Linked DNA regions of Homo sapiens: regions 1, 2 and 3 are each linked to region 4. Evidence: promoter capture Hi-C in 16 types of primary human blood cells and fetal thymus (Javierre and others, 2016). All regions are on one chromosome and are shown on one strand. The core of a region is centred on a gene start or on the middle of the fragment in contact, and the rest is flanking DNA. Distances in the headings are between cores, read along the strand shown. Region 1 has its middle 7.4 kb from the start of DNM1L. Region 2 overlaps BICD1 (BICD cargo adaptor 1). Region 3 overlaps BICD1 (BICD cargo adaptor 1). Region 4 holds the start of AMN1 (antagonist of mitotic exit network 1 homolog).

Evidence for each region. Contacts are between HindIII fragments. The CHiCAGO score rates a contact against its expected background, and 5 or more counts as called.
Region 1: a fragment that was not itself captured here is called in contact with the fragment with the promoter of AMN1 in region 4 in 2 of 17 cell types (endothelial precursors and fetal thymus); the score reaches 6.1 in endothelial precursors.
Region 2: a fragment that was not itself captured here is called in contact with the fragment with the promoter of AMN1 in region 4 in 2 of 17 cell types (total B cells and fetal thymus); the score reaches 5.4 in total B cells.
Region 3: a contact is called between a fragment that was not itself captured here and the fragment with the promoter of AMN1 in region 4, in 1 of 17 cell types (non-activated CD4 T cells). The highest score is 5.2, in non-activated CD4 T cells.

The regions. Positions count from the first base shown.
Region 1 is chr12:32,670,386-32,673,502 of GRCh38, reverse strand. No RefSeq gene overlaps it. Among named protein-coding and RNA genes, the nearest start is that of DNM1L, 7.4 kb to the left of the region's middle. The HindIII fragment of the contact is 1,077 bases long and covers 1,298-2,374 here.
Region 2 is chr12:32,245,016-32,247,724 of GRCh38, reverse strand. The region is part of intron 2 of BICD1 (BICD cargo adaptor 1); the gene reads right to left. Among named protein-coding and RNA genes, the nearest start is that of BICD1-AS1, 140 kb to the right of the region's middle. The HindIII fragment of the contact is 7,468 bases long and covers 1-2,709 here.
Region 3 is chr12:32,322,347-32,325,331 of GRCh38, reverse strand. The region is part of intron 4 of BICD1 (BICD cargo adaptor 1); the gene reads right to left. Among named protein-coding and RNA genes, the nearest start is that of FGD4, 76 kb to the left of the region's middle. The HindIII fragment of the contact is 573 bases long and covers 1,291-1,863 here.
Region 4 is chr12:31,727,395-31,730,309 of GRCh38, reverse strand. AMN1 (antagonist of mitotic exit network 1 homolog) reads left to right here and starts at 1,289. Exons shown (of 7, transcript NM_001113402.2): 1 at 1,289-1,339. The coding sequence starts at 1,302. It overlaps AMN1-AS1 (AMN1 antisense RNA 1), which reads right to left and starts at 1,045. Exons shown (of 1, transcript NR_198987.1): 1 at 1-1,045. LOC105369722 (a long non-coding RNA gene) reads right to left here. Exons shown (of 3, transcript XR_931497.3): 3 at 1,420-1,653. RefSeq lists enhancers at 781-980, 376-1,008, 1,021-1,370 and a silencer at 1,421-1,500. The HindIII fragment of the contact is 3,446 bases long and covers 1-1,697 here.

The DNA.
Region 1 (3,117 bases), core at 587-3,086, 940 kb before region 4:
ACCATATGAATTTCTCCATTTTTCCTTGTTGCCCTTTTCACACAATATTATTGAACTATTATTTAAGTGCTTATTGTATGTGAGGCACTATACTAAGCATTTTATCAGAGCCTCGTGAAGTAGGTTTAGAGATGTAGAAACGGAGGCTCCAGGGATTGAAGTGAAGTGGTAAATTTACACAGCTAGTATGTGGCAGAGATGGGATGAAAAGGGGCTTTTTGGCAAACCCCCTTTTTTTTCTTTTTTTTGAAACAGTCTTACTCTGTCGCCACAGTGGTGCGATCTCAACTCACTGCAACCTCTGCCTCCCAGGTTCAAGCAATTCTCCTGTCTCAGCCTCCCCAGTAGCTGGAACTACAAGCGCACACCGCCTCGCCAGGCTAATTTTTGTATTTTTAGTAGAGACTGGGTTTCACCATATTGGTCAGGCTGGTCTTAAACTCCTGACCTCAGGTGATCCACCCGCCTCGGACTCCCAAAGTGCTGGGATTACAGGTGTGAGCCACCATGCCCGGCAGCAAACTCTCAACCGCTACACATTCTGCCTCGTGTATTTATTCCTTTCTTCATTAATTCAACACATATTGATGAAGTACTTGTTAGGCATACGGATCTTAGCCAGGCAGTATATTTTGCTGGAGAGTAGGGAGGAACCGTGGATATGGCACTAACATGCCCTCCCCCTTCACCAATAGTGAGCTCACGAAGGGCAGAAGTGATTATCTTATTTAGCTGGGTTCCCCCACTACCTCGTATGAAGCGTGTTACATAATATTAGTCTACTGGATATGGGGTTTTCTTTTCTTTTTTATTTGGAAAATCTGGAATAACAAGGATTTAAGCAGCTCTGAATTGATATAATTGCAACCAGGACTGGCAATCAAATCTCACCAACACATATGAGTCTGGCTTGGCATAGGACTCCTCATTAGAATAGATGCCAAGTTACTTAGCTAGGGAGTAGCCTGGCTTTGTTCTAACTTAAAATCCCGAATTAGAGGAAGTTTATTTTGGATTAAATTAATAACTGGAAATTAATCGATCTTGGAAAAGGTCAGACTGTTTTTATCGCATGTGTCCAATATCATTTTATGCCAACATTTTGATCATCAATCACAGCCAAGATGCCGGTATCTGCACCTTCAAATCATAGCGGTTAGTGGGGATCTAATGTTAATATAAAATATACAGCTCTGTTGGGGAAGCCTCTTTGTCATATTTTGGAAACTGCCCGTGTTTTGCAAAGATGATAAAGTAAACAGCTTTAATCAATTTGCTACTCCCCAGGCCTCAAGCTTAACACATACTTTGTTAGCAGGTGCAGGAAATTGTTTGCAGATGGTGGAATTGGCCAGATGGTTCAGAAGCCAGAAATTGAATCTGGTGAGATACTGACGGGACCATGAGAGGGCAGTGTGACAACACAATTAAGAGCAGTTAACGACAAAATAACTTGGGAGTTAAGATATGGTCCTGATTTCTTCCCTTTGCTCCACACCCACACCCCAATAGAACGTAGCCCTTCTTTTTATCCTCCTACCATCAAAATTTGTGGCATATTTTAGAAACTATTTGAGATAATAGAGTTATTTTATTTATATTTATATATTTATTTTTGAGATCAAGTCTCGCTCTGTAGCCCAGGCTGGAGTGCAGTGGCACAATCTCAGCTCACTGCAACCTCTGCCTCCTGGGTTCAAGGGATTCTCCCACCTCAGCCTCCCAAGTAGCTGGGATTACAATAGGCGTGGGCCACTCGCCAGCTAATTTTTGTATTTTGTTTATTTATTTTTTTGAAAGACAGAGTTTCGCTCTTGTTGCCCAGGCTGGAGTGCAATGGCATGATCTCAGCTCACCGCAACCTCTGCCTCCCGGGTTCAAGTGATTCTCCTGCCTCAGCCTCCCGAGTAGTTGGGATTACAGGTATGCACCACCACGCCCGGCTAATTTTGTATTTTTTTAGTAGAAACGGGGTTTCTCCATGTTGGTCAGGCTGGTCTCGAACTCCTGACCTCAGATGATCCGCCCTGAGGTGTTAGCTAGACATCCAAAGTGCTGGGATTACAGGTGTGAGCCACTGCGCCCGGCTGTATTTTCAGTAGAGACAGGGTTTTGCCATGTTGGCCAGGCTGGCCTCAAACTCCTGACCTCAGGTGATCCGCCCATCTTGGCCTCTGAAAGTGCTGGGATTACAGGCATGAGCCACCACGCCCAGCAATAGTGATTTTAAATTACAGCAGTGACAACTGAAAATTATATGTTAGACATCCCTGCATTTAAACTACTTCACTTGCCCCATTTCTCAAGCCTTCTCATTAGCCTCTTTACAACTCTACTCCAGGTTCTCAAATGTTGTTTGACATTCTTAGAAGCTTTTCATATCTCCCTTCTCTGTTTTTCTGTTTTTTGTCTCCCTCACACAAACTCAATTTGCTCATATTTGATGGTGAAGAGAAATTTCACTTTTAGCCCTTGGTTAGCTGCTACCTTTGCAGATCTAAAGGCTCCCTAGTACACTATGACAAACAAAAGGGACACCTACTCTGGGACGCAAGATCATGGGAAGCATGACGTGGTTCTGGACTTAATGGTTCTGATGATATTTTCCTGATTCTCAGATAACAGTCGAGATAAAAAGATCCCGAGAGCCAGCTGTCGCTTATGATAAATATACAGTAACTTCTGGTGTACTGATTTTGTGACATTGTTCGGGAAGTAATTCCTGGATGTCTAGCTAACACCTGTTTTTCCCAGGCACTCTAACAGATTTATAAGCATCTAATTTCCCATATTAAATATCTTTCGGGCCGGGTGTGGTGGCTCACGCCTGTAATCCCAGCACTTTGGGAGGCCAAACAGGCAGATCACTGAGGCCAGGAGTTCGAGACTAGCCTGGCAACATGGCAAAACCCCATCCCTACTAAAAATACAAAAATTAGCTGGGCATGGAGCTGCACGGCTGTAGCTCCAGCTACTCGAGAGGCTGAGGTGGGACAATTGCTTGAACCCAGGAGGCAGAGGTTGTAGTGAGCCGAGATTGCACCACTGCACTGCAGCCTGGGCAACCGAGCAAGACTGTCAAATGAATGAATGAATCTCTTTCTGCATAAACTTGGT
Region 2 (2,709 bases), core at 110-2,609, 520 kb before region 4:
GCCTCACAGTTCAACCAATTTTCCTGCCTCAGCCTCCTGAGTAGCTGGGACTACTGGCTAGAGTGAAGTGAGTGTGCACCACCACACCCAGCTAATTTTTGTATTTTTAGCAGAGACAGGGTTTCTCCATATTGTCCAGGCTGGTCTTGAACTCCTGACCTCGAGTGATCTGCCCACCTCGGCCTCCCAAAGTGCTGGGATTACAGGTGTGAGCCACCATGCCCGGCCCAACAGAGGTCTTTAATGGTTTCTCCTTTTCTCTACCTGCTTCTGTACACCAGAGTGTCTGAGGCTGGATCTTCAGATGTATTCTCGTCATTCCTTAGGTTATCTCCTCCAAGCCCATGGCTTAAAATGTCATCTATTCACTGATGACTCCCAAATTTCTTTCTCTAGCCCAGCCTCTACCCTGAGCCCAGACTTGTGTATCCAATTACCTACTTGTCTTCACCACTTGAAGGTCTAATAGGCATTTTTTTTTTTTTTTTGATACAGGGTCTCGCTCTGTCATCCAGAGCGAAACCCAGAGCGAGTCTGTTACCATGACTCAAGTGATCCTCCCACCTCAGCCTCCCTAGTAGCTGGGACTACAGGCACACACCACCATACCGGGCTAATTTTTGTATTTTTTGTAGAAACAAGGTTTTGCTGTGTTGCCCAGGCTGGTCTCAAACTCCTGAACTCAAGGGATCCACCCACCTCAGTCTCCCAAAGTTCTAGATTACAGGTGTGAGCCACGGTGCCTGACCATAACAGGCATCTTGAACTAAACATGATCAAAACAGAACTCTTGATGTCATACTCCCCACCCCCAAACCAACCCAGCTTCTCAATGAGAGGTCCCATTTTACAACATGACAGCACAGTACTATGTTTATGTCCATCTCACACACTTGACTGTAAGTTTCATGAGAGCAAGGGTTTTGTCTTGTTTTTTGCTGTATCTCTTGTGCCTACAGCAGTCTCTGGCAAAAAGACAGTGTTCAATGAATATTTGATGAATGCAGAATAGTGGGGCAAGGAAAGTAAAAACAATAAACACTGAAAATCTGCAAATAATCAAATAACTGTAAAGATGATTTTTTTTGAGACAAGGTCTCACTCTGTACTGCAGGATAGAGTTCATTGACACCATCACAGCTCACTGCAGCCTCAACCCCCCAGGCTCAAGCATTCCTCCTGCCTTAGCCTCCAAAGTAGTTGAGACTATAGGCACACGGCACCATGTCTGGCTAATTTTTAAAATTTTTATAGAGATGGAGTCCTACTATGTTGTCCAGGCTGGTCTTTAATCACTGGCCTCAAGCGATCCTCCCACCTTGGCCACCCAAAATGCTGGGATTACAAGTGTGAGCCACCGTGCCTGGCCTCTTTTGTTTTTCTTTTTTTAATCAACCTTTTTTTTTTTTTTTTTCCTGATGGGTTCTCACTATGTTCCCCAGGCTGTTCTCAAACTCCCAGTCACAAGTGATCCTCCCGCCTCAGCCTCCCAAGCAGCTGGGACTTCAGGCACACACCACTGGACCTGGCTATAATTCATATTTCTTGATAAGAAAAGTTGATGGATGCTTTTTCTTTCCAGATGTTAAAACTTGTTTTAACCCAATACGCAAATCTTTAAATATGCCTTTGGGTTTTTTTGCTCCAAGTTGTGATTTCATCCTTTTTCCTTTTTTTTTTTTTTTTTTTTTTTTTGAGACAGAGTATCATTCTATCACCCAGGCTGTAGTGCAGTGACACGATCTCGGCTCACTGCAACCTCTGCCTCCTGGGTTCAAGCGATTCTCCCATCTCAGCCTCCCAAGTAGCTGGGACTACAGGTGTGCGCCACCACACCTGGCTAATTTTTGTATTTTTAGTAGAGAAGGGGTTTCACTATGTTGGCCAGACTGGTCTCGAACTCCTGACCTCAGACAATCCGCCCACCTCAGCCTCCCAAAGTGTGGGATTACAGGCATGAGCCACCGTGCCCAGCTTATCCTTTTTCTTAAACTATGGTTAATTGGACACTTATCCTAGTAACTACTCTAAGAGCTTTGCATTACCTCATTTAATTCTCAAAGTAACACTATATTGCAATATTATGCTCATCTAACAGATGAAGAAACTCAGGCAGAGAGAGGCACGTAACTTGTCAGGGCCATGATTCAAATCCAAGTCTCTCTGACTTCAGATCCCATGCCTTAATTGCTAAGCTATATGGCCTCCTTTGTTCCTGCTGATGATTTGGATTACATTCAATACACTGTTTGCTTTAGGAAAATCACTTGATCTTAGTCCTGGGCAAACAGCTTGTGTTCCAAATAACAGCAGATATCCTGACCAGGCCTCAAATAGTCACTTGAATTGAGCTTAAACTAAGCTCTTTGAGAATGGCGTGAACCTGGGAGGGGGAGCTTGCAGTGAGCTGAGATCGCGCCACTGCACTCCAGCCTGGGGGACAGAGCGAGACTCCGTCTCAAAAAAAAAAAAAACAAAAAACAAAACTAAGCTCTTTGATTCCCAGCAAACAAGTAAAAAATAAAGCACATAGAGTTATATAATTCTAGTTATCTGATTTTTAAAATACTACTAGATATTCAAAAGAAATACATTTATTTGTTTACTATTATTTTTATCCCTATTATACAGATGAAAAAACTGAGGCTTGGAAAGATTACAAGATTCAGACAAGATTCCATTGAAAATAAGTGGTGGGGCCTGATTCTG
Region 3 (2,985 bases), core at 328-2,827, 590 kb before region 4:
TCGGCCAGTGATTGGTTACTACGTATCTGTTATTCAGTTCACTCATAGACAGCTAAGGATGTAGTTGCCTTGTCTTGTCTCCTAGTGATAAATCCATGTGATGTTTTACAAAAATGAATTACAAGAAAGAAAGGACAGCAACAAAGAGTGACAATGTTGGAAATGAAATCTGAAAAAAAAAAAACATAAATGGAGCCAGGTGCAGTGGGGTGTGCCTGTAGTCCTAGCTACTCCAGGGGCTGAGGCAGAAGCATTGCTTGGGCCCAGGAGCTGAGGCAACATAGTGAAACCCTGCCTCTAAAAAAATCCCCAAAACTACCTAAATGGAGTTATAGAAGAAATAACTGAATATGGAAATGTTGACACTAATGCTGTTTGAGGGACTTTAGATGTTCACCCAAAGAAATTTAGTGGAGGCAAATTTTTCAATCTATTAAATGAAAAAGTACAGTATGGCCGGGTGTGGTGGCTCATGCCTGTAATCCCAGCACTTTGGGAGGCCGAGGTGGGTGGATCACGAGGTCAGGAGTTCAAGACCAGCCTGGCCAAGATGGTGAAACCCCGTCTCTACTAAAAATATTTTAAAAAATTAGCCGGGCAAGGTGGCACGCACCTGTAATCCCAGCTACTGGGGAGGCTGAGGCAGGAGAATTGCCTGAACCCGGGGGATGGAGGTTGCAACGAGCCGAGATTGTGCCACTGCACTCCAGCCTGGGCGACAGAGTGAGACTCCATCTTCATCTCAAAAGAAAAAGAAAAAGAAAAGTACAGTACAGTAGTTGCAAAAAGGATGAAAATGTCGAAGAGGAAGTGATGCTGGCACATTAAAGGTACTCACAAAGATATTTCCAGATGTTTAAAGTGCAGAGGATAAAATGTTGGAAGGTGATCCAAACTTAGAAATGAGGATGACAATTTGCCAAAGCATAGAAAAGATTCTTGCTCAGTGTCCTAAGTTTTTTTTTTTGTTTTTTTTTTGAGATGGAGTCTAGCTCTGTCACCAGGCTGAAGTGCAGTGGTGTGATTTACGCTCACTGCAACCTCCGCCTCCCGGGTTCAAGCGATTCTTCTGCCTCAGCCTCCTAAGCAGCTGGGACTACAGGCACACGCCACCACACCTGGCTAATTTTTGTATTTTTAGTAGAAATGGGGTTTCACCATGGGGTTTTTAGTAGAAATGGGGTTTCAGCCTGGCGGCTGGTCTCGAACTCCTGACCTCGTGATCTGCCCACCTCGGCCTCCCAAAGTGCTGGGATTACAGGCGTGAGCCACCGCGCCCGGCCCTAAGCTTTATGGGAAGGCAAGATCAAAATACTCTTGATAAGCTGTTTACAAAGAAATAAAAGGTTAACTCTCAATATTCCTAATGTTTTAAATTATGAAGTACTAAGTAGTTTTACTATATTTTCATTTCTATATATATTTATAACCAACAGTAAGAGACTTTTTAATGTTTCACAAAAATATTTAAAGATCACAAAACAATTGTAAATTTCCCCATTAATTATTAAGTTTGTTTTGCATGGTTTCAGTTTGCATGACCATTTTTTACTGTCCCAGACTACTATGCAAACCAAGGACTGCCTGTATAGTATGATCACATATATTAGAACCTAAGATACAGTTTTGTTATCTCAAGGTGTTATTTAGAGGCTTTTAAGTTGTAGCTCTGATTTTATGACATAGTGTTTGTCCATACCTATGAAAGGAAAGCAACCCACAAATTATATATTATGGCTGCAGAAACCAAATTATTCCCAAATGATAGTACTGCAGGTAAAGAACTGGGCCTGTGGCATCAGAGAACACTGGAGTCAAATCTCGGGACCAACATTTACTTAGCTATGTGACTCTGAGAAAGCTTCAGTTTGGTAACCTATGCAAGGAGCACAGTAACGCCTCATAGGGAATTTTGATGATGAAGTGAGTTAGTGAATTTAATACTGAAGGTTCTACAATGTTAGCTATTGTGAACAATTGGTTAGCTGTGGTCCACCTCCCACAACCAAAATGTTTTTACATGGCAAACACATCTGTTCTCACAATTTTGAAAATTTTATAAAAGCAACTCTTTCATTTTAGAGTCAGGAAATATTTGAATACAAATCTTAGCTGGATTTCATTAGTTATAACAGACTGTATCTCCAGAGGTGATGATGAATTTGCTTACCCAGACTATTTGGGCAATAGTTTTCAGTGAAAAACCTGGTAATTATGTAATATGGTATTTCATGAATAGCCATGTCATTTGAATTTTTCATAAAGGAGATGGAAAATCTCTATTCTATACAATCTCAGTGAAAACTGATTATGTCAGAAGTGTTTTTGTTTTCCTTTTTTCCTTTGAAAATTAAGCAAATTTGCACTGGAAAGTGTAAACGTTATTCAATTAGTACACATGATTACAGATAAGGCTGTTTCCAAAACGCCCTTCAAAAGGAAAGGCCTCTGGATCAAATAAATATTGGATCAAAACAAAATGTACTGAATGTGTCTGAAGCTTGTTTTAGCAGCAAAAGTGTTATGATGAATAAGGTCATGCCTTTAGAACAGCCTTCAATCTGGACTCTGACAGTTGAGATTTAATATAAACATTTTCTAAGCCTAAAAAGGTAAGTCTACAGTGTCTTCACGATAGCATCTCCAGAAAACATCAAATAGAACACTGTCTCTTGCATGTGTGTTTCCTCCCTACACAACAGGAGTCCCCAACTCCCAGGCCTCTGACCAGTACCAGTTTGTGGCCTATTAGGAACCAGGCCACACAGCAGGAGGTGAGTGGCAGGCGAGCAAACATTACCGCCTGAGCTCTGCCTCCTGTCAGATGAGTGGCAGCATCAGATTGCCATAGGAGTGCGAACCCTATTGTGAACTGCGCATGCGAGGGATCTAGGTTGCAAGCTCCTTATGAGATCTAATGGCCCCAGACCACCCGCACCCTATCTGTGGAAAAATTGTCTTCCATGAAACAGATCACTGGTCCAA
Region 4 (2,915 bases), core at 40-2,539:
GTTCTTATCTCAGACATACAAGCATGAGTTTCCTTCCTTTCTGGTCTCTAGGCTCCAATTTGTCTGGGTCTGACAATAGTTACTTCTCCTGGAATCTGCAACTTTCAGAGCACTTTATGGAAAAAGTCGGCCAACCCCTGCCCTACACTCACTCTTGATCACTCTCCAGTGTAGCCATCCCAAACTATTTGCAGACCACCCTTTTCTCTCTGATCTGTATCCCACCCCCATGGGTGCTTCCATAGAACTAACCCCATCTAAGCATTTAACAGTTATTCTAATTGCCCTTTTACTTGTCTGACCCAAGTGTTCGCCACTCAATCCTCAGCACCCAGCACGATCCCTAGCCCTCGTTCAGCGCTTAATAAATCCATGTTGATTCAATGTGTAGCATCCTGAACAGGCAACAGCAGTGGGTTCCAACTTTCAAGGAGCTTAAAAAAGGAACTCAGCATACAAACAACAGACTAATCTACAAGGAAGAATGAGGGGGGTGGAGGGAGCACTAAAAAGCAGCAAGTACTCTGCAGCAGAACCAAAGATAAAATTCCACCTAAAGGTGCCCTTTCTTCAGGATCCTTCCTAATTTGAATACAGGTTCCCTTCTCCTCCATGACGAAATTCTTAGTGAGGTTACTTGTTGGTACGCAGTGTCCTCATCTGTAAAATAAGGCTAAATAATTACGATTTCACCGGATTATAATGAATATGGTTAAGTATTGAACTAAGGCCTAGAAAGCACGTAGCTCAGTGCACGCTTCCTAGAAAGTGCTCAGTAAACTCGGATCCTCTAACACGCTCCGTTTGATGTTAATGGAGTCCGTATCCGAGCGGGTCTCCAGTGTGCATCGCCAAGGGTATGGCCCAGCATCCAACGCATCCTTTTAGTAAGAGTAGCGACTTCTCAGCGCTCCCTTCGCCCCAGGAGAGTTCTCGGCTCGCGGCGTCGCGGCGGGGCTGCGCGCTGGGCTGAACTCCCAAGAAACCTCCTGCAGCTGAACCGGAGCAGACGCCCGCCAGGTGAAAGAACTACAACTCCCGTCACGTTGCATCCGAGTTTAGGGCCTCTTTATAGTTTATCACACCCAGCCTCTTCCGCGCAGCCCTCAGTGGCTCCGCCCCAAAGGGGGCTCTCTTCTTTCCTTGTGGAGTCCGAAGCGTGGCCACGCCCCGGTCACCGGAAAAATCCGTGTGACGTCACAAAAACCTACGCGTCGCGCGGTGGGCGGGAGTTGGCGGACGGTCCCTGGCTGGGTTCTGGAGGCCCTGGGACCGCGGAAGAGGCTTCAGACGCTGCAGCGATGCCTCGCCCACGGCGGGTCAGTCAGCTCCTGGATCTGTGAGTCTACCCTGTCCCGCCTCCCTTCGCGCCGCCCCAGCACCTCCTCCAAACGGCCAGGCCCTGCGCTGCTCTTCCTCCCCGCCCCTTTCCCACCCCCCCCGCCGACCTCTGAAGAGGCCCCGCGTGTGTTTCTGTCCCTGGGTTCCTGATCTGTCGTTTCCTGGCTGAGGACAGTTGTGCAAAGTGGGTCTCTTGGCGGGCTTGCCCCTCCAACACTCCGCTGCGCGATGAGCGTCCATTCCTCCGTCAGCCTTGACAGCTCGGCGCCCCGGCTGTTACTGGCAGTGGCCTCTCTCTTAGCAGCTAAAAGCCTTGGTAGAAAAAAACACAACGCTAGATGAGGTTCTCAAAAGCTTCTAGCAGAATTCCACCCCTGTAACTGGAATAAACATTGACAGACCCTGGGATAAAGGTAACAAAGTGGTTAAGACCACGGATCCCTGGCTGAGATTGCTGGGTTCAGCCCCCGGCTCTGCCATTCACCAGCCACGTGACCATGGACCGGTAACGTAACCTCTCCCTGTGCCTAGGTTCTTTATCTATAAAATTTTTGTGATAATAGCACCCATCACATGGAGTTGTCCTGAGGGATAAATTTAAAACATGTAAAACCCTTATAAGGATGCCCAGCAAATAATAAACACCACTAAGTGTTATTGTTATTATTATTTCCTACCAGAAATTGTACGGAAATGGAAGTTACAAGGGCAATTGCGTCTCTCCAGGAGCTTTCAGTCCGTTAATATTGCCATGTAAAAAATAGACATCTTAAGGATAAGGAGAACAATCTCCTTAATCTACTGAAGGCTTTCTGAAACAATGGCATCTGATATTTTACATTAAACTTGGGAGGCCGAGGTGGGAGAACTGCTTGAGCTCAGGAGTTCGAGACCAGCCTGGGCAACGTGGCGAAACCCCGCCTCTACTAAAGATACAAAAATTATCTGGGCACGGTGGTTCACGCCTGTAATCCCAGCACTTTGGGAGGCCGAGGCACTTGAGATCAGGAGAGTTGGAGACCAGCCTAGCCAGCACGGCAAAACCGCGGCATGTACTAAAAATACAAAAATTAGCCAGGAGTAGTAGTGGCGCCGGTAGTCCCAGCTACTCTGGAGGCTGAGGCAGGAGAATCGCCTCAACCCAGGAGGCAGAGGTTGCAGTGAGCTGAGATCGCGCCACTGCACGCCTAGGCTGCTAGGCGACAGAGCGAGACTGTCTCAAAAAAATAAAATAAATAACTATAATATATGTAGAATAATATCACAAGCGGGAGAGTAACAAACTTTTGAAATTTCTAATAAGGAAAAGAATAGGAGAAAGCTTTGTCAAGGGGGTTATTTTTGAACATTGGTAGTATCTGACGGTTGCAAATGGGAGGAAATGTATCGTAGAGAGTGAAATAAAAAGAGTAAAGGTTTGACAGGCAGGAAAGGTAGAAATATGAGAGAAGACCAGAAAGTAGCGCTCCAATGTGAATGGAAGATACAATATGAATAGCACAGTAGTGAGACATAAAGCCAGGTCATTGGGAATAGAATCTTAGGGACCAGGATGAAGTAAGAGCATTTCCTCT